Regions from separate parts of the Homo sapiens genome. Here all the other regions are linked to region 6. The links are contacts of gene promoters, found by promoter capture Hi-C in blood cells and fetal thymus (Javierre and others, 2016). All regions are on one chromosome and are shown on one strand. The core of a region is centred on a gene start or on the middle of the fragment in contact, and the rest is flanking DNA. Distances in the headings are between cores, read along the strand shown. Region 1 overlaps ITGA6 (integrin subunit alpha 6). Region 2 overlaps PDK1-AS1 (PDK1 and ITGA6 antisense RNA 1). Region 3 overlaps PDK1 (pyruvate dehydrogenase kinase 1). Region 4 overlaps PDK1-AS1 (PDK1 and ITGA6 antisense RNA 1). Region 5 overlaps GORASP2 (golgi reassembly stacking protein 2). Region 6 holds the start of HAT1 (histone acetyltransferase 1). Region 7 overlaps PDK1 (pyruvate dehydrogenase kinase 1).

Region 1 (3,004 bases), core at 76-2,575, 570 kb before region 6:
GCTCTGAAATCTCAGTGATTTTCAGAGTTGCTGATTTACAGTTATAGAAAGCTATACCTGCTGCCTTTATAGATGCAGAGAAAGGATCCTTAGGGAAGGTGTGGTTTATTTGAAAGTCCCTTATGATGCCTGTTGATATGTCCTGGAGAGACCGGGACAGTGCTGGTTGATACCACTTATCGCAGCAGCTTGCCCAGTACAGCATTTGTCTCAGGCAAATGTATCCTGGGGCTGGGTGCAGTGGCTCACACCTATAATCCCAGCATTTTGGGAGGCTGAGGCAGGCGGATTGCTTGAGTCCAGGAGTTAAAGACCAGCCTGGGCAACATGGTGAGACTCTGGCTATACAAAAAAAACTGAAAAATTAGCTGGGCGTGGTGGCATGCCTGTGGTCCCAGCTACTCAGGAGGTGAGACAGGAGGATTGCTTGAGCCCAGGCATTCAAGGCTGCAGTGAGCTGTGTTTGCGCCACTGCACTCCAGCCTGGGTAACAGAGCAAGACTCCATCTCAAAAAACTAAATAAAAACAAAAATGTATTCTTGCTTGGATAATAAATCGTAAGGACTGCTATATTTCAGAAAACAGAATGATTAGGGAGGCTCCCTGAATTTTCAGCTAGCTAAATGACTGAAGCCAGAACATTTCCATAAGTAGACTGGCAGATTAACTTAAGAACAGTAATTCACAGTATTTCTTTCTCCAGTCTCTTTTGCAAAACATTCCCATTCATTATTCCCACCATGACATGCAGTCATTCTGCCTCGAGATCTTTATACAAGTCCCTGTGGGTTCTAGACTCCCACAGGGAACCCCTCACTATTGGTTCACTACAAGGTTCTACACCTAGTCCTATTCAACATATTTGTCATTACCTGGATGAAGACATAGAGAACATGCTTCTCAGTTTTTAAAACTTTCAGGGATAGAAAGTTGAGAAAGCAAATGATGAAGCAAGATTCAGAATTACTTTGCAAACTGAAACAATGGACCCAAAGCAAATCACATAAAATGTAAGGATACACTTAAAGGCATACATTTAGATTTTTACAAATAGCTCAAGGACAGGATACTGGAAACACAGCTTGACAACAAATTCTGATGAAAACACCTGGAAGTTTCAGTAGAACACTAACACAAAAATAGCAGCTGCTAGAAATTCAAACATGCTGCTCAGCAATGGTTTGAAAAAGCAAATTTTAGGCAGGTCTGACAGAAGTGTGGTGCCGAGATGCTGAGAGGTAAAGGCCCCAGGGTAAGTGGGACCAAGCAGACCCCACCTCAGCTGCTCTGTCCACGTGGGAATCAAATTGCCCAGGAAGGGAGAGGCCAGGAGCCAGTTCAGCTGTGCCCAATGTGACGCATAACTCAAGAGCTGGGTGCATAAGCTCTGAGAAGAATAAGAAACATCCAAGGAGGCATGACCATTTCCTTCAATTATTTGAGAGGCTGCTACATGGCCAAGAGAGAGAACTTATTTTAGACTTGTTTGAGGGGCATAACCAGGGACTTACAAGGTTCAGTTCAGGAGTCAGCTATGAAGAGATCTTTTTTAATAATTACAGCTGGCCAAGGGATGGGCCATCACTGGGGCATTACACCAATGGCTGCAGCATTAGAGATGGTAGAAGACACAGGTTTCTAGAGGGCTGTGAGGTGCACCCATTCTCTGAATTGAGCCAGTAGTTCTCAAACCTACCATGGGCACTGCTGAACTGGATGACCCTAGATTTACTTCTTTTTTTCAATGATTCTATTAAAATACAGCTTGCAGTGCCAGTACCTTAAGACAGTTTTCTCCGTAATGGGGCTATGAGGGAAATGAGCACCAAAGCACATGACTTCAGGACATGAGTGTGGGGTACAGGGAAAAGAGACATGTTCTGAACCTGAATGAAGCTGGGGAACCTCTCACCTGAGTGCCTGCATTTGGCAGCCTGATATTTTCGGCAGCAGCAGTCACATCAATGAAGGCTCGCATGAGAATGTCCAAGTAGTTCAGTTTGGAATATTCCTGTTTGGAGACAGTGAATGCATTAGGGAAGTGAAAAGTGTCCTAGGCAAAGGCAAATTACTTCCATGGGACAGCCTCAAGCCAAGGTCATACCTCTAGAAATGTGCTGTTCCATAACCTCGAGCGCAAAATAAGAGACGCCTTGCTGTCCAGCCCCCGCAGCGGGCATCTGATGTTCACACAGTTCACGTTCACGCTACAGTTCTAGAGAGAAAAAGAAGAATGGTCATCAAAAGACATTGTTCTGAAGAAATCCTTCCCCTCATCCTCTCAAATATTCACAGCTCTTGAAAAATACTTACAAGAGTCTGGTATTTTCTTTCAGCAAATAAAGAAAATTTTCTGTTATCATCTATCTGTTTTTCAGTAATTTCCCGTTTCTTTCTTGAGTTGTGAGACTCCTGAAAAAAATTATATCCAAAATAGTTCCAATTTATGTAATTCTTTGTCATTACCATACAAGCCTCTTGAGCATATCCTCCCAAACAGTGCCAGATTCACATAATCAACAATATTTGCCTCTCTCCTGCCAAAGGCACAGAAGTAAGTGTAAAACCAGCAAGTATTATCACTCTAAATTCAAGTTTATTGATTTACTCATAGGACTAAGTAATTCATTCCCACTCTGACCTTAAAACTCAGAGAAAGAGAAATATGCTTTCTTTGTTCCTCTGTATCCCCACCAAACTGTGGGCATACTGAGATCAGAGATCAAATCTTATTCCTGTATCCCTAGCCTCCAGCTCTGTTCCTAAAACATGGTAGTCAGCACATCTTGAAGGAATAAGTGACACTGAAGAACAGAGAAAGAAGCAAAAAGACCCATTATATAGCTCATTCAGAGCAGAGCAATGAAAACTAAGCCATACAAGAACTTTTAAAATTGCATTTTCCTTATAGCAAAGATTAGTAATAACCGATTATCTTGATTTTTAACATTGATGAGTAGAAGATCATGCTATAAGCCACCAACTCTGATCACTGATCATACC
Region 2 (3,016 bases), core at 317-2,816, 630 kb before region 6:
CAGGATTTATTTAGCACAAACATAGTTTTTATCTGGAGTAAGTGCTTTGAAATGCTGATGGAGTGGAAGGAGAGATCTGTAGGGAAGGCTCAGAACAGCTTTACAGGAAGCAAGGAGAGGAATTCACTTTGTAGAGCAAAGGGGAAGGGGAGGAGGCAGAAGATTGCAAAGACTGTTCACAATGTGAGCACTCCTTATAACCCAAACCTTCAGTAAAGTTTGCAAAAAAAGAGAGATTATTGGATACTGAAGCTTTTATGTGTTGTGCTTTTGTGAAAATTGGAGGAAAGGATGAATTTTTTTTATGAGAGTTTGTGGCAATGGAGATAGACTTTGCACACAAAGAGTCTGAGTGGTGGTGGGGTGGGGGGTACTATAAATGAGACTATGAGCCTCAAGAATTTACAGACATGGACAGGGAGAACTCTAGACTTTCACAAACTGAGACTGGTAATGTTAAAAGATAAATTTGGGCACATTAAAAGTTTTAAAAATTTATTTGAACTGTTGATTTAAAAAAAAGACTCAAACTCTGTAAAATATTTTAAGAGATTTATTCCGAGCCAAATGTGAGTGACCAAGGCCTGAGGCACAGTCCCAAGAGGTCCTGAAAACATGTGCCCAAGGTGGTCGGGTCATAGCTTGATTGTGTACAGTTTTAGGGGAACAGAAGTTGCAGGCAGACATCACTCAGTACATGTAAAGCGTACACTGCTTTGGTCTGAAAAGGCAGGACAACTTTAAGACGTAATATAGGGGGATTGGGAAACTTGTGGCAGGAGGGGGCTTCCAGGTTATAGGGAGAGTCAAAGATTTTCTGACTGGCAATTGGTTGAAAGAGTTAAGTTACTATCTCAAGACCTAGGATCAATTGAAAGGAGTGTCTGGATTAAGACAAGGGGTTGTGGAGACCAAGATTCTTATTACACAGATAAAGGTCCCACATAGCAGGCTTCAGAGAGAACAGATAGTAAATGTCTCTTATCAGACCTAAAAAGGTGTCAGACCTTAAAAGGAAAAACCTGGAAAGGGAAGGGGATCCTCTACAGAATATAGATTTTCCCCAGAAGAAATAGCTTTGCAGGGCTAGTTCAAAATATGTCAAAAAAATATGTTTTGTAGTAAAACACTTCAGTTTATTTCAGGACCTGCTATCTGTCATGTGTTGCTACTGAGGAGTAAATTCTGATTTTTTTATCTTGCCCAAATTCCTATCTAAGAGTTCTGGGGAGTCATGCCCTACAAACCATAAATTCTCATCAGATGGGTTTTATTTAACCCTATATATCGAGACTTACTTTTCACCCTGACTCTGGAATAACATTACATGACAAGGAAGAAAAGCAAAATATTTTATCCCAAAACATGTTTTTTTGCCATATCTTGAAATGGCCCTGCAAATCTGTCTTTTGTGGGGGAAAATTTGCATCAGTAAAGAATCTCTATTAACATAGCTAGATCTTTTACTTCCAGGCCCTCCCAATCCTAAAAAGATTAACTTAAAGTCTAGCACCTTTTAAAGATCTGAATAGGAAACGTTTGTCATCTGTTGTCTCTGAGGGCAGCCACAATAAAACTTCAAAAGAACCTTGGTCTCCACAATCCTTTATCTTAACCTGAACATTTCCTTTCTGTGATCTCAGGTCTTTAGATAAACTCAACCAATTGTAAATCAGAAAATGTTTAAATTTACCTATAGCCTGGAAGCCCCAACTTTGAATTGTCCTACCTTTCAGGACTAAACCAATGTATTTCTTAAATGTATTTGATTGATGTCTCATGCCTCCCTAAAATGTATAAAACCAAACTGTGCCCCAATCACCTTGGGCACATGTTCTGAGGACCTCCTGAGAGCTGTGTCACGGGGCCATGGTCACTCATATTTGGCTCGGAATAAATCTCTTCAAATATTTTACAGAGTTTGGGAGTCCTCGGCCTCCCAAAGTTCTGGGATTACAGACGTGAGCCACTGTGCCCAACCTTGTAACTGTTTCTTATCAGACTTTAAAAAGGTGCCAGAGTTAGTTAATTCCCTTCTGAATCAGGGAAAGTACTTGGAAAGGGAAGAGGATTCTCTGTAGAATGTAGATTTTCCCCACAAGAGACAGCTTTGCAGGGCCATTTCAAAATATGTCAAGAAATATATTTTGGGATAAAATCTTTAGTTTCTTGCAGAACCTGCTCCTTGTCATGTTGGTATCTTAGGCTACAAACAGTCTGTTTTGTCAGATGTAAAATCTCTATGTTAATGTTAATGCTGGTCAGCTGTACCTAAATTCCAGAAGGGAGGACAGAATAATGAGACATGTCTGACCCCGCCTTCCCATCATGGCCTGAACTAGTTTCTCAGGTTAACTTTGGAATGCTCTTGGCCAAAAGGAGGGGTCCATTCAGTTGGTTGGAGGGTTTAGAATATATATATTTTTTGAGACAGAGTCTCACTCTGTTGCCCAGGCTGACGTGTAGTGGCATGATCTCAGCTCACTGCAACCTCCGCCTCTTGGGTTGAAGTGATTCTCCAACCTCAGCCTCCCGAGTAGCTGTGATTACAAGTATGTGCCACCACACCTGGCTAATTTTTGTAATTTTAGTAGAGATGGGGTTTCACCCTGTTGGTCAGGCTGGTCTTGAACTACTGACCTCAGATGATTTGCCCACCTCGCCTCCCAAAGTGGTGGGATTACAGGCCTGAGCCACTGCCCCAGCCGAATTTTATTTTTGGTTTACAAGGGAGAAGCTCATTGGGTAAACCAACTAAGGAGGGGCAGAATAACCAAATACTTATTTTATTTTGTTAATCCTTTCAGAGGTGCAATGGTTTTCACTCACATCTGTGTGAAGAGACCACCAAACAGGCTTTGTGTGAGCAATAAAGCTTTTAATCACCTGGGTGCAGGCGGGCTAAGTCCGAAAGGAGAGTCAGCAAAGGGATATAAGGATGGGGCCATTTTATAAGATTTGGGTAGGTAAAGTAAAATTATAGTCAAAGGGGGGTTGTTCTCTGATTGGCAGGAGT
Region 3 (2,877 bases), core at 278-2,777, 660 kb before region 6:
ATAGAAGAGAAAGAACCTGCAAAAGTCTCTCCTCTATCAAAGCACCAAAAAAAAAAAAAAAAAGAAAGAGCGGGGGAGGGGGGTGCAAAAATCATTTAGAATCTACTTTGACAGAATTCTGGAAATTAACTAAAGGCATGCAGCAATCTGGGGAACATTTATTCAAGTAAAACAACTGAATCCGTATAAGAACAGTAAGCATTTTAACTTGCTCCCATCTGCTCCCCCTCCCTCCAATCAATATGCAATCAGAGTGAAACCAGCAGCCTGGTAGCTGCTGGGAAGACTGTATTTATTTGACCTGACTCTGAGCTCCCCAGTACAAAAGTCTTGCACCCCACCCCCATCCCTGGAAACATCTGTCAAAAACAATTAGAAGTAACTGATTAATTTGAGGGCTGCAGAAGAAACTGGACAACAGCTAGGGCAAACAATAAGGCTAACCAAAAAGCTTAACAGGAAGGTCTAGGGAATGAGATAGCCATAGGGGCTTTGAAAACCTCAGCTATCTCCTGGGAATCTGGAAGGCCATACTCATGCCCAGGGTCATGCTCAGGAAAGACACTGAGAAGGCCCTAAGCTCTCACCTCTAATTGCTCTATGCGAGCAGGACCTAAAGGTTAAGGCACAGTTGTTAACTGCCTGGCTGAGTGTTGAAGATATTCTCCTGAACACTTCTATACACACACAGAGTCCCTTGGCAAAGACTGGGAAACTTACTGATTCCAGGTATTTGAGGAAATCTCAGTCCAGTCATTAGCTGACCACTAAGCTAAATGAGCAGAGACTTCAGAAGCCACACACAACAAAGAATTCAAACTTAAAAGAATTAACTCCAAAAAAAAAAAAAATTACAAAACAACAACAAAGACAGCCTTGGGGAGACAGCAGTATCTGATCTGCAGAGCTGTCAAAATATATTATTTTAAATGTCCAGTTTTCTATAAAAATAACAAGATATGAAAAAAACAAAAAAGTATTGCCCATACACAGGCAAGGAAAAATCAGTCAATAAACTATACCTGAGTCAGTAAACTCACACTCCGTAAACAAACACTAAAGAACTAAAGTATAAGGATGTCTCAAAATAGAAAATTTTAAACGATACAACAATAAAATATAGGGCAATAAAATGATATGCATCAACATTTAGCAAAGGTGAAAAAAACAGGATAGATATTATATAAGAGAACTAAGTTGAAATTCTGGAATTGAGAAGTACAATAAATGAAATGAAAAATAAACGAAATGAAAATTTCACTAGAGGGGTTCAACAGCATATTTGAGCATGTGAAAGAAAAGAATCAGTGAGAGTGAAGACAGGTCAATTGAAATTATCCAGTCTGAGAAACAGAGAAATGACTCATCACATATGTGCAATATTCAATAAGATTGTAACAGCTGATTTCTCATCCAAACCATGGAGGCTGGAAGGCAGTGAGATAACATATTCCAAAGTGCTGAAAGAAAAAGACTATCAACAAGAATTCTATAACCAGCAAAACTATCCTTCAAAAATGAAGGAGAAATTAAGACATTTCCAGATAAGCAAAAACTGAGAGAGATGATCACTGACAGACATGGGCTATCAAGAAATACCAAAGGGAATCCTTCAGGCTGAAACAAAAGGATACTAGACAAAACATTGAATCCATGTTTAGAAATAAACAGTGCCAGTAAAAGTTATTACAAAAGTAAATCTAAAGGAAAATATGAGTATATTTTTTGTTTGTAACTCTTTTTGTGTCCTATCTGATTTAAAAGACAATTGAATAGAACAATAATTATAAATCTCTGTAGACAGGCACACAATGTACAAAAATGTATGTTATATGACAATAACAGCACAAAGGATGGGTGGGGAGGGGAAAAGGCCTATTTAGGAGAAAAGTCAGTGTATACTATTGAAAGCAAATTGGTATTAATCTGAACTAGATTATAAATTAAGGTGTTAATTGTAATCCCCAGGATAATTACTTAAAAAACTCAAAGAAATATAGTAACAAAAACAAGAACGAAATTAAAATGATATAATACAAAATATTTTAACAAAAGACAGTGATAATGGAGAAATAATAAAAAATGATATGACATATATTGAAGACAAAACGGCAAACATAAACCAAAATTACTGTTAATTACATTAATAGTAATTATATTAAATTTAATTGATCTGAACATTCCAATTAAAAGGTGGACATTGGCAGAATGGTTTTAAATTCTAACTGTATGCTATAAAGAGACACATTTTAGACTGAAAGGCACAAAGAGGTTTAAACTAAAAGTCTGGAAAGTTACACTATGAAAACAGAAACAAAAAGAGTTGGGATGGTTACACTAACTTCAAACAAAATATACTTTTAAACAAAAACTGTTATAAGAGACAAAATAGTACATTTTTTAATGATATAAGGTTAATACACAAAAAAGAGATAATAATTAAAAACATATATGTACTCAACAGAGCTCCAAAATACATGAAGCAAAACTGATGGAACTGAAGGGCGAAATAGACAATTCAACAATAATTGGAGATGACTTCAATACTCCACTTTCAACAATGGATATAACAATTACAAGATCAACAAGGAAAGACAAGCTTGTACAACACTGCAAACCTACTAAACCTAATAGCTATCTGTAGAACATTCAACAGCATCAGAATGCACACTTTTCTCAAGTACACATGGAACATTCTCCAAGACAGACCCTATGTTAGGCTGTAAAACAAATCTCAATAGATGTATACTTGAAATCATACAAAGTATGTTTCCAATCACAACAGAATGAAATTTAAATGATTAAGAGAACACATGGGAAATTCACAAGTATGTGGCAATTAAACAACACAATCCTATTAACCAATGGGAAAAATCC
Region 4 (2,700 bases), core at 139-2,638, 590 kb before region 6:
TTGTTTCATTACTGATTTAGATAAGTCTTTATAACCAGATCAACATGTCACTGCTTCTGTGGGTCAGCTACTAGAACTGGCACATTGTTTCCCATTCCGTTGTAATGCTATTCACTGTCATGGGATTTTCCTTCTCACGGGGCAGGAATCTTAAAAGCATGGCCTGTAAGAGTAGCCTACAACAAATGTCAGCTATCCTGTCAAGACGGTGAAAGCTATATATTTAGATAAACAGACTTAACTGCACCCCAGTCAGTCCTTATCCACACATTTGAGGATGTTAGGGGTTTGGAAGTTGTGTAGAAAGACATAAGACAGTGTAAGCCTAGGTTATAATCTTATTCCTTATACCATTATACCTTATGCCATTTTACAGGTGAAGGAATTAAGGCATCAGGCATTTAAACTTGCCCAGGTCATACAGTAAAAAGTGACACAATAGGGACTTGAATAAAGACTGGCTCTAGAGACCCTTGACACCCAAAGAGTAATCCATAGATCAGTAGTATTGCAACACCTGGAGGTTGTTAGAAATGTAGACTCTCAGGCTGTTTCCTAGACTGTTTAAATCAGAACCTGAATCAACAAGATCCTCAGGTGAGTCTTAGGCATGTTAAATTTTGAGAAAGACTGCTCTTAACTTCTCTAATTGAGACTTCCTGACCACCAGTGGCTTCCTCAGGTAAGAACCCCAGAACTTCAGTTCCATCAGCAATTTGAGGACACCTTGGCATCAGGCAGTCCCCCAATCTTCCTATGGAAGAATGCATGTATATGTATGTTTTTTGCCTTTACATAGTCTTTCAGTCCATGCATTATTGTGACATGTGGGAGGCAGGAGTTTTCAAATTTGTTCTTCCAGTGACAAACTCCGTTCTAACACACATGGTGTAACTCAGGTGCAAGATGAGCTCTGTGAGCATTTCCTCTTCTGCACAGCAGTAAAGGTAATAAGCAGTAAAACTGTGGCTTGCCTTCCCACTAAAGGAAACCAAAGAAATCGATGGTGTGTAAAGAACTCTGAGAAAAGGTTCAAAAAGAGAATCTGCTCTTTTCACACTCTTCCATGTCAGCGGGGAGAAAAACACAAAGATTCAATACCTAGCGATTTCAAGATGCTTTGTTGATTATCTTAACATGTCATCTTTCTGACCCCAACCGAAGACTGCATTATGGTCACTGTATTAAGGGTTGAGACAGAATTTAACATAGAAATAAGGTCACTCTTGTCGTTGTTCAGAATGATCTATGTTGATAAGGACTTTAAGAGGTTCATCGTATTTTTTTTTTGTAGTTATAACACCCACTAGTAAGACTTAAGTTGGTAGACACTGAAGAATGAGGAGACAAAAGGTTCCCGTGACAATAAAAATAAACCGTGTCTCCCCATCTGTGAAACGAGGAAGTAGAACTAGATTTCCATGCTTCCTTCCCTTTTTAAGATTTATGGTTCTATATAATAAACAAGGGTAAGTATAAAAGTAACTAGTAAGCACTTCCAGATGGTCCAATTTTCTCTTTACAAGAACCTCTGGGCTGGGTATGGTGGCTCACACCTGTAATCCCAGCACTTTGGCATGCCGAAGCAGGGGTGGATCATCTGAGGTCAGGAATTCAACACCAGCCTGGCCAACATGGCGAAACCCCGTCTCTACTAAAAATACAAAAAATTAGCCATGCATGGTGGCGGGCGCCTATAATCCCAGCTGCTTGGGAGGCTGATACAGGAGAATTGCTTGAACCCAGAAGGCAGAGGTTGCACTGAGCCAAGATCGTGCCATTGCACTCCAGCCTGGGCAGCAAGAGTAAAACTCCGTCTCGATGGAGCCAGACTCCATCTCAAAAAAAAAAAAAAAAAAAAAAAAAAAGAACCTCTGAGTGAGCACTTATCTTACAGGCCAAGAAACTGGGCACAGAGATATCCGTAACTCACCCAAGGTTATGTTCTAAGAGGAGAAGCTAATTCACACCTGCAGCGTGGCTCCAGAGACATGCCCTTATGCACCGCTCAGCTGCCTCCCTGCCTATAGCAAATGCACCTCTAGCTTCTCAGCTCCTGTTACTGGTGCAGTGGAAGTACCACAAACAGGAACGAGGCATTCCACACAGTGAGCATATTATTTTGATAAATATTCACAACATCCAATAATCTCTAAAGTAGTTCTCAATCCTGGCTGCACTTTACGAGTCAGCTGGGGAGCTTTAAGCAGCGCTAATTTCTGGGTCTCACTCAGATTCTCATGTAGTCAGTGTGGCAGATTGTCCAGCCATCGGGATTTTAATAAATGTATTTCTTTGGTGATTTAAATGTGTAGACCTGCTTAAGAATGACTCTAAATTTTCTGGGAATGGGGTTGTTCTGGGGGCAAGTTCTGCCCACAAAGGTTCAGGTATTGACTTTATTTTTTTTTTTGAGACAGAGTTTTGCTTTTGTTGCCCAGGCTGGACTGCAGTGGCGCAGTCTTGGCTCACTGCAACCTCTGCCTCCCAGTTCAAGCGATTCTCCTGCCTCAGCGTCCCAAGTAGCTGGGATTATAGCCATGTGCCACCACCACACCCGGCTCATTTTTTGTATTTAGTAGAAACGGGGTTTCACCATGTCAGTCAGGCTAGTCTCGAACTCCTGACCTTATGTGATCTGCCTGCCTCGGCCTCCCAAAGTCCTGGGATTACAGGCGTGAACCTCCACGCCTGGCCAGG
Region 5 (2,975 bases), core at 135-2,634, 990 kb after region 6:
CCTGTCTCTACTAAAAATACAAAAATTAGTTGGGTGTGGTGGTGGGTGCCTATAATCCCAGCCACTTGGGAGGCTGAGGCAGGAGAATCACTTGAACTGGAGTGGCGGAAGTTGCAGTGAGCTGAGATCGCGCCACTGCACTCCAGCCTGGGTGATAGAGCAAGACTCCATCTCAAAGAAAAAAAAAGTGTATATAATCAACATGAAACTACTAATTTGTTCAAGGCCTATTAATATTAGAAAAAGTTTATGTTCAATGATATAATTCCTAAAAGTATCCCAAGATTTATATACATTGTATTCCATGGCTTCAATAAACTGAGACATCCTGATTCCTACATTTGAAAGCAATTTAAAAGAATGTTTATTAAACAACTTCTGGGCCTTTTATTAGAAAAGATCAATTTTGGGCCTGGCACAGTGGCTCACGCCTGTAATACCAGCACTTTGGGAGGCCGAGGCCTGTGGATCAGCTGAGGTCAGCAGTTCGAGACCAGCTTGACCAATAGGGTGAAAGCCCATCTCTACTAAAAATACAAAAATTAGCTGGGCACGGTGGCAGGAACCTGTAATCCCAGCCACTCTGGAGGCTGAGGCAGGAGAATTGCTTGGACTTCGGAGGCGGAGGTTGCAGTGAGCTGAGATTGCACAACTGCACTCCAGCCGTGGCAACAGAGCGAGACTCCATCTCACAAACAAACAAACAAACAAAAAAGAAAAAAAAGGAGAGATCAATTCTGGGGGCAGGGTCAGACTCTTCAGGTTTCACAATTATAACTTTATATATAGAAAACAATACCAAATAACCCTACTGTTTTCTTTTTACCCATTGTTTCCAGAATGAGTGAGAAGGGAGCCAGAGTGAGATTTCTGTGTTAGGGGATGAGGTAGGGCGTGGTGGCTAACACCTGTAATCCCAGCACTTGTCGGAGGTGGAGGCGGGTGGATCACTTGAGGTCAGGAGTTCGAGAACAGCCTGGCCAACATGGTGAAACCCCACCTCTACTAAAAATACAAAAATTAGCTGGGCGTGATGACAGGTGCCTGTAATCCCAGCTACTTGGGAGGCTGAGGCAGGAGAACCCGGGAGGTTGCAGTGAGCCGAGATGCGCCATTGTACTCCAGCCTGGGCAACAAAAGCGAAACTCCATCTCAAAAAAAACAAAACAAAACAACAACAACAACAACAAAAAAAAAAACAGGGTATGAGTTTCAAAAGTTTGAGAAAGACTGTTAGAAGAATAAAGAAGACAATGACTATTGAATATCAGAAATTAATTTTTTCAAAATAAGTACTAAATTGAAATCCCATCACAACAGGATTGCAGATAGGTTAGTTAGGCACCATTTAAAAAGAGCAGTACCTTTGGGAGACCTCATCTCTGACAAAATAGAAAAAAATATATAAAAAGAGCAGTTCCATATGATAGAAGATATGGTGTAGGCATTGCATTTTCTATAGAAGTAATTCCACTTGCAGTCACTTGCTTCTCTGAGAACACCTAAATGTTACCCAGTCTGCAGCAAATAGCTCAGAAGATAAAAACCTGTTATTACACTCGTGACACATTTCATGTCAATGACCCTTCCTTCAAAATATCCATCACCTCAAAATCTCTCCCAGAAGCAAGCATGAGAAAGAATGAAAATGCCATTTTCCATGTCTCCACACTCCACACAGTCTCCACACTGAATACTTGCTCCAGAAAGTATGCCCTCAGCTATTCCCCATCTCTTTTAAGTGTGGAACAGAATATGAATATTTTAATTTAAAAGCAGATCCTATAATAGGCATCTGTGAGGTCACTCCAAAAATTTAATTTTGTGAACTATGTCACTAATAATTTTTTAGAGAACCTTGTTTATTACCTTTCAGCTTTATTTTCCTGAGCACTCAAATGTACCTGCACATACACAGGGTGTTTGAAACACAATTTTGAGCGAATGTATAGCATTCTATCTGTGGTTAGGCCCTGATTTGTTTAACAATTTCTCACCTGTTGGATATTTTGGTTTAATTTAATTTTGAAAATGGTCTTGTTGGGTTCACTGGATAATTAATGGAAAATATAGGCAAAAATTTGATATTAAACATAGTTCACATGTAGGGGGTAACTTACAATAACTTCAAAAACTGAGAAGCCCTAACATTTTTCCTGCCTTACATTAGGATTGGAGGACCAAAATAAAAGTGCCATTCATAGTGAGCACAAATCTGACCCACTATATAAGGAAATCTGAAATGCTATTTTTTAAAAAAAGACTTCTACACAAATTTTTAAATCCTCCACTAGGAGTCCACTTCTTTTTTAAAAGTAATTTTGCATATCTACACTTTGGGTGACTATACAAGTATTTAATGATCACTTCAGAAATCCTAGAAAATATATTAAAGTTAAAAAAAAAGTCACCATCCACTAATAATTTTTTAGACAACCTTGTTTATTACCTTTCAGCTTTATTTTCCTAAGCACTCAAATGTACCTGCACACACACAGGGTGTCTGAAACACAATTTTGAGTGAATGTGTAGCATTCTATCTGTGTTTAGGCCCTGATTTGTTTAACAATTTCTCAGCTGTTGGCTATTTTGGTTGTAATGTTAACCTCTTAAGATAACTTTTGGCCATATAGTCCTTGAATACGTCATATTATTCAAAATCTTTGTGAAACATGGCTAAGGGGCGATGTTAGGCCCAGGAAAAAAAGGAGACTAAGAGAAATACTTCAACAGTATTTGCCTTTAGATGGTGGGATTACAGGTAATTCAGGTTCTTTGCTGTACTTTTTTACCACATCCAAATGTTCTCTAATGGACACATGTTGATGATCAGAAAACAATGTAGTTATTTACTAAAATAAAGATCAACATTTCTACAGACAGCTACCATTAAAATTCAATACAGTAATCTGGGAAAAGGATGTATGTTATGGGAAAACAAAAAGTAGGATTTAAGGTTGTAAATATGTACTTAT
Region 6 (2,913 bases), core at 53-2,552:
TAGAGTACGTCCTCCCTCTTCTGTGGTACTTCAAGATCCTACAATCTCCATCTGGTAGAAAAGTCCTTCTTTAAACATCTGTAGAGCTCACACAACAGCTTGTCTATCCCACATATTCATAAAAATGGAATGGTTAATGTAGAGAGACTATGAGGAATGCCCTGTAAAGAGATGATAAAAGCAACAAAGGCCAGCGAAGTGGCTCAATCCTGTCATTCCAACACTTTGGGAAGCTGAGGCGAGAGGATGGCTTGAGGCCAAGAGTTCCAGACCGGCCTGAGGCAATACAGCCAGACTCTGTCTCTAAAAGGTTAAAAAAAATTGTTTTTTTTTAGCCGAATGTTGTGGCGCATGCCTGTAGTCCTAGCTACTCGGGAGGCTGAGGCAAGAGGATCGCTTGAGCCTACGAGGAGTTGGAAGCTGCCCGGAACTATGATCGCTGCACTCCAGCCTGGGCGACAGAGAGACCCTGTCTCAGGAAAAAGAAACTGTCCATAACTTCAAAAGATAAGTAATCGAAAAAAATAATCACACCAAAACAGCCTTAATACACGTACAAAGTAATAGCAATTATACATTATTAAATGTTGTAACTTGAAGGGTCTCTAGAATGTACACAAGAGAATTGTATTATAGTAGTCCAACCCTAAAAGAGAAGGGAGCAGTTCAGGAACAAAGTCTTTCTCAAAGGGCATCTAAATACGATCCTCGGAATACTAAAGTGTGACAGATTAACGAGACGACTACGAAGTCAGTCGAGATCCAAGTGGGAGCGCCAGAGCAGGGCAAGGCAGCAATGCGCTAGCTCAGAAGTTGACTGTAGTGGAAGGTAGACGGAGACCTGGAAGAGGAGGAGGATCTGAGCATTAAAATCAGCTGGCGGGAACAGGACCAGATGTACAAGAGCTGAAGCAAGCAGCAGTGGACAAAAGGAATGGGAAGAGAAACAGGCCCCAAGGCATGTGGCATTTTACGAGCCCAAATCATGACGCTTTTCCCTGGCGTCTTCGGCCCTCGGTAGGGGCCGGATTGCTGGCAGAAGGCGCAGAACCCCAAGCAGTTGGGGGCGGGGGCGCGGACCGCCGCCAACAAGGAGCTGCTGGGCTGAGAGTTCCGCGCTTCCGGTCCCAAGCAGGCCTTCTGGAACCCAGGCTACAGCCCGAAAGTTCTAGGCGGGCATTGTCACCACCGTCTCGGCGTTCTATCCCCGATCTGGCCGCCTCCTCCCCTTGGTAAACTTTTCCCGGTAACTTACCCGCCATTTCCGAGCTACGATCACCCGCGGCTGAGGAAGGACGAATCAACCCGCGCGCTCCCGGGCCGGAAGTGACCGCACAGTCTGACATATTTTCCCCGCCCACTCCCAGCGTGACGTTAGCCAATTAAAGGAGGCGTGTCCAGGAGCCCGGCGGCGGAAGCGCCTCAAGAGGCGGGGCTAACGCCGAGAAGTCTGCGCGGGCCGTTGCCTAGCCACTGCGAATGCCGTCAGCCGCTTTGCAGGCCTGAAGTGGAGAAGGAGGCCGCAAACGGACTTTCGCGGTTGAGATGCTCTCTGGCCCTAGGAAAGTTTCTCTGGGGTTGATTTGATCAATACAGACACTTTACGCCTGTTTTCCATACCCGTCCCTGAGATGTTTTGGAGACTGGCTGAAAATCTTTCCTCTTGGCCTGGACAGTGCATCCAAACACCTGAGCCCTGTGGGCAATTTTACCATTTTACCTAGGTAAAATGTAGAGGTTGAGTTTCAGTTGCGGGAGAAGCTTTCACTTGTTTTCCTCATTTGTTTCTCATTTTGCTGTAAACTTTAACACCTTTTTTCCTTTCTCCCCTGTTTTTAACGTATACAGTATGATATTTAGGTACTCTGCTTTCACTCTGCAGGTTACTAAGAACCGTTTAGCGCGCAAAAATCGTTACCTAGGCCGGGCGCGGTGGCTCACGCCTATAATCCCAGCACTTTGGGAGGCCGAGGCGGGTAGATTGCCTGAGCTCAGGAGTTCGAGACCAGTGTAGCCAACATAGTGAAACCCCGTCTCTACTAAAAATACAAAAATTAGCCAGGCATGGTGGCAGGCGCCTGTAATCCCAGCTACTCGGGAGGCTGAGGCAGGAGAATCGCTTGAACCCTGGAGGCGAAAGTTGCAGTGAGCCGAGATTGCGCCACTACACTCCAGCCTGGGCAACAGAGTGAGACTCCGTCTCAAAAAAAAAAAAAAATTGTTACCTAATAAATACCTCAAGTAGCCTGATGTAGTCTTGCATGCCACATGTCCTAGTGGTTTGAATTACATCACAAGGTGCTACCTGATTTTAGCCATAGGCCTTGTTAGTATTTAGTAGCTGTAGGAACTGCTTTCCCCAGAGGATAAACCACTATTTAGGTATCCACAAATATTCCCACAATGTTGGCTATACACCAGAATTCCTTATCTCAACAAATATTTGTTAACAGGTTTTACAGTGATGCACGCTAAAGCTAAAATGGACCCTTGGGATGATGGTCTAGAACTAACACGCCCTCTCATTTTAGAGATGAGGAAACCAAAGCCCAGAAAAGATAAACTGCCCAAGTTCATTCTCAGTATGCAACCTATGCAGAGTGCAGTTCATCAGATACTCAGCCCAGTATTTATTTGCTCAACTATATAGAGATGGCTTTCCTGAAGATAAAGATCAGAAAAGGTACTGAGAATGCCCAGATCCTTTTTCTTTCTTTTTTTTTTTTTTTTTTTTAGACGGAGTTTCACTCTTGTTGCCCAGGCTGGAGTGCAATGGCACAATCTCAGCTCACCACAGCCTCCGCCTCCCGGGTTCAAGCGATTCTTCTGCCTCAGCCTCCTGAGTCGCTGGGATTACAGGCATGCGCCACCACACCCAGCAATTTTGTATTTTTGTAGAGACGGGGTTTCTCC
Region 7 (2,856 bases), core at 180-2,679, 670 kb before region 6:
GACACGTGCAATGATGGCTCTGATGCTTTGGTTACGTGGCATTTTGTTCTTCTGCTTCTAATTATGCTTCTAATTGCACCAGGTGTGGGATTCAGTTTCTGTCTCCTCGAGTCTATAAATCTGACTTTAAATAGGTGGAAACCAAAACCTACAGATGTTACTTTAGCAAATGCTGTGTCATCACTGTTTACTTTGAAAGAGTGGTTCCCAACCTAGGGTAGGCATCAGACTTACCTTGGAAGCATTTTAAAAAGTGAGATTTCTAGGCTCTAGCCCTAGGGATTCCGATTCAGTGTATCTGGAGTAGGATGCAGAAAAGCTCTATTTTTTTCCAAAAGCTTTCTAGGTAATCTCAACAAGCAATCAGTTCAGTTTTGGAGACATATTACTTTGCCCTCAATTTCTTCTCTATTTTAGTAGCTGCTAGTTTGTTTGTTTGTTTTCAGTATAAAAATTTCCCCTTGCATTAATCAGAAGTACACTTAGAAAAGATGGCCCATGATTTTGGCATAGATCCACAGAGAGCTAGTCATTACACTTCTTTACAATAAAATTTAAAAATGGTAAATTAACCTCAGAGCTAAGACAATGCATGTAGACGCCGAAGGGTGGCTGGTTCTGTGATTACAGGCCAACTGTTTTCTGCTTTACTTGTAGTCAAGTCACTGATAAACATGAAGACCATATTACAGCTGTCACTACCGAATAAAAGATGGCAGAACTCCTCCAAATAACAGGAAGATGGCTAACCAGCTAATCACTATCATTTAGAAAATGTTTCTAGCAAACATAAATGAAAGTATTTCTTAAAAAAAAAAAACTAGTTTCCTATAGAAACCCGAAGATTTCCACACTTCTGAAGTCTACCACAAAGTGAAAAGTTGCCCAAAACTACAGTTGTTTAAAAATATGTTCAATTAACTGTGAAAATATAAGTGTAAAATAGGTGCAATTTCATCCTTTAGGAGGTTTAACGGGCACAAATGGAATTCAGTTTCCATTTATTCTACTCAAATAGTTTTGTGAAAACGATAAATAAAGTACTTGGTATAATATAGTTCTGAACACCATACCTTCCAAATTTAATACAAAAGCCACATTTGGATTTTCCGATGTCCCAAGTGTGTCTAGGCACTGCGGAACGTCGTCATGTCTTTGGGTTCTCTGCTGGGGACGCACCAGTCATCAGCCTCGTGGTTGGTGTTGTAATGCTTCCAGGCAGCTTTGTTATACACTGGGAGTCTTTCTATTGAGTCTGTTGACAGAGCCTGAAAAAGAAAAACCTAAGACCTATTAAGTCTGGCATTTTTTAGAATTCATTATTTGAGAAAATAGACAATGGCAAAAAGGTTACGACAAATTAAATAATATTCTATTAGTATCTTATTAATCCTTATACCACCTAAATATACTTTTAAATGGTATGTATATTTGAAACGTGTTATTTATGAAATCTATGGCACTGACTGATGTGCAGGTTGACTGAGTTTGTTGCTTACAGTAATTCCCCAGCCATCCTGGAAGCTGCTGGACTGAAATTTTACACAAAACATGACCCAGATCAGAGTTGGCTAACTGAAGAAGTTGGTTAAATGTAAAAGCATACAAATCGATATATGTATCTTAATAGATGCACATAAATTTAATGAACTCTATTTTAATTATTTACTAGAAGAAATAGTGTTTTTTTCAGCATAGTCACTGTGCTTTAAAAAAAACTCATCACAAGCCAGGCACGGTGGCTTATGCCTATAATCCCAGTGCTTTGGGAGGCTTACACAGGAAGATTGCTTGAGCTCAGGAGTTGGAGACCAGCCTGGGCAACATAGCAAGATCCTGTCTCTACAAAAAATAAAAATATCAGCTGGACATGGTGGCACATGGGTGTAGTCCTAACTACTTGGGAGACTGAGAGAGGAGGATCACTTGAAGCCCAGGGGTTCAAGGCTGTAGTGAATTATGATTGTACCACTGCACTCCGGCCTGGCAACAAAGCAAGATATTGACTCTATAAATACATAAAAATTTAAAAACTCATTATAACATTATTAATAAATAGAAATCTATGTCTAAGGCATCTTAGCTTTTTCGTGAACATTTATTGGCCCTGGGTTTGAATCTGTGTCTTCTCCGGCCTCCAATTTCAGTCACTGTGCACAAGATTTCTGCATCATGCATGATTTCAGTTTTCCATATATTATTACCAGTAATTCTCCATTGTATTTCAGCTTCCTATAAGTCACTGGAACCTGAGATAAACTACATTTCTAGTTATCTTCTTCAAGTTAGGATTTTTCAGTAGTATTTCCATCCCAGGCCAAAGGCATTTCCTAAGATGCAGAACACCCTGAACAAGAAAATCTCATTCTGATAATGCTAAAGTCTTTGATGTTGACAATTTTAATGATTCTCTAAGACTTCTTATCTTCTATTTTCCCTAAGGTAGAACAAAAAACCTTTCACCTCCATATTTCTCTAAATATTCCAGAATTTCTTGATCTACAGGCTAGATCAAGCTTGTCCAATCCACAGCCCACAGGCTGCATGCGGCCCAGGATGGCTTTGAATGAAGCTCAACACATTTGTAAACTTTCTTAAAACATTATGAGATTTTTTTTTGTGCAATCTTTTTTAAGCTCATCAGCTATCATTAGTGTATTTTATGTGTGGCACAAGACAGCTGTTCTTCCACTGTGGCCCAGGGAAGCCATAAGATTGGACACTCCTGGGCTAGATCAAAATGTTACATTTTGTCATAAAAACATTGCACTAGGCCAGGTGTGGTGGCTCATGCCTGTAATCCCAGCACTTTGGGAGGCCAAGGCAAGCGGATCACCTGAGGTCAGGAGTTCGAGA

The links. Contacts are between HindIII fragments. The CHiCAGO score rates a contact against its expected background, and 5 or more counts as called.
Region 1: a contact is called between a fragment that was not itself captured here and the fragment with the promoter of HAT1 in region 6, in 6 of 17 cell types (naive CD4 T cells, non-activated CD4 T cells, activated CD4 T cells and 3 more). The highest score is 10.6, in naive CD4 T cells.
Region 2: a fragment that was not itself captured here is called in contact with the fragment with the promoter of HAT1 in region 6 in 4 of 17 cell types (naive CD8 T cells, total CD8 T cells, non-activated CD4 T cells and 1 more); the score reaches 7.1 in naive CD8 T cells.
Region 3: a contact is called between a fragment that was not itself captured here and the fragment with the promoter of HAT1 in region 6, in 6 of 17 cell types (total CD4 T cells, naive CD4 T cells, neutrophils and 3 more). The highest score is 10.4, in total CD4 T cells.
Region 4: a fragment that was not itself captured here is called in contact with the fragment with the promoter of HAT1 in region 6 in 4 of 17 cell types (neutrophils, naive CD8 T cells, naive CD4 T cells and 1 more); the score reaches 9.1 in neutrophils.
Region 5: a contact is called between a fragment that was not itself captured here and the fragment with the promoter of HAT1 in region 6, in 2 of 17 cell types (neutrophils and total B cells). The highest score is 8.1, in neutrophils.
Region 7: a contact is called between a fragment that was not itself captured here and the fragment with the promoter of HAT1 in region 6, in 1 of 17 cell types (total CD4 T cells). The highest score is 5.7, in total CD4 T cells.

Annotation. Positions count from the first base shown.
Region 1 is chr2:172,490,433-172,493,436 of GRCh38, reverse strand. It overlaps ITGA6 (integrin subunit alpha 6), which reads right to left. Exons shown (of 26, transcript NM_000210.4): 21 at 2,315-2,413; 22 at 2,106-2,216; 23 at 1,914-2,012. All of the region lies in intron 2 of PDK1-AS1 (PDK1 and ITGA6 antisense RNA 1), which reads left to right. Among named protein-coding and RNA genes, the nearest start is that of ITGA6-AS1, 26 kb to the right of the region's middle. The HindIII fragment of the contact is 4,096 bases long and covers 1-3,004 here.
Region 2 is chr2:172,548,564-172,551,579 of GRCh38, reverse strand. All of the region lies in intron 1 of PDK1-AS1 (PDK1 and ITGA6 antisense RNA 1), which reads left to right. Among named protein-coding and RNA genes, the nearest start is that of PDK1, 6.0 kb to the left of the region's middle. RefSeq lists enhancers at 1,265-2,006, 2,007-2,749. The HindIII fragment of the contact is 2,623 bases long and covers 255-2,877 here.
Region 3 is chr2:172,576,712-172,579,588 of GRCh38, reverse strand. The region is part of intron 8 of PDK1 (pyruvate dehydrogenase kinase 1); the gene reads right to left. Among named protein-coding and RNA genes, the nearest start is that of PDK1-AS1, 22 kb to the right of the region's middle. The HindIII fragment of the contact is 2,148 bases long and covers 454-2,601 here.
Region 4 is chr2:172,509,011-172,511,710 of GRCh38, reverse strand. All of the region lies in intron 1 of PDK1-AS1 (PDK1 and ITGA6 antisense RNA 1), which reads left to right. Among named protein-coding and RNA genes, the nearest start is that of ITGA6-AS1, 44 kb to the right of the region's middle. The HindIII fragment of the contact is 2,843 bases long and covers 1-2,700 here.
Region 5 is chr2:170,932,472-170,935,446 of GRCh38, reverse strand. All of the region lies in intron 1 of GORASP2 (golgi reassembly stacking protein 2), which reads right to left. Among named protein-coding and RNA genes, the nearest start is that of GORASP2, 4.7 kb to the right of the region's middle. The HindIII fragment of the contact is 5,206 bases long and covers 1-2,975 here.
Region 6 is chr2:171,920,850-171,923,762 of GRCh38, reverse strand. HAT1 (histone acetyltransferase 1) reads right to left here and starts at 1,302. Exons shown (of 11, transcript NM_003642.4): 1 at 1,256-1,302. The coding sequence starts at 1,262. It overlaps LOC105373740 (a long non-coding RNA gene), which reads left to right and starts at 1,374. Exons shown (of 3, transcript XR_923579.2): 1 at 1,374-1,724; 2 at 2,532-2,683. RefSeq lists enhancers at 1,028-1,077, 1,218-1,866. The HindIII fragment of the contact is 14,743 bases long and covers 1-1,763 here.
Region 7 is chr2:172,594,241-172,597,096 of GRCh38, reverse strand. It overlaps PDK1 (pyruvate dehydrogenase kinase 1), which reads right to left. Exons shown (of 11, transcript NM_002610.5): 11 at 1-1,268. The coding sequence ends at 1,128. Among named protein-coding and RNA genes, the nearest start is that of PDK1-AS1, 39 kb to the right of the region's middle. The HindIII fragment of the contact is 2,178 bases long and covers 341-2,518 here.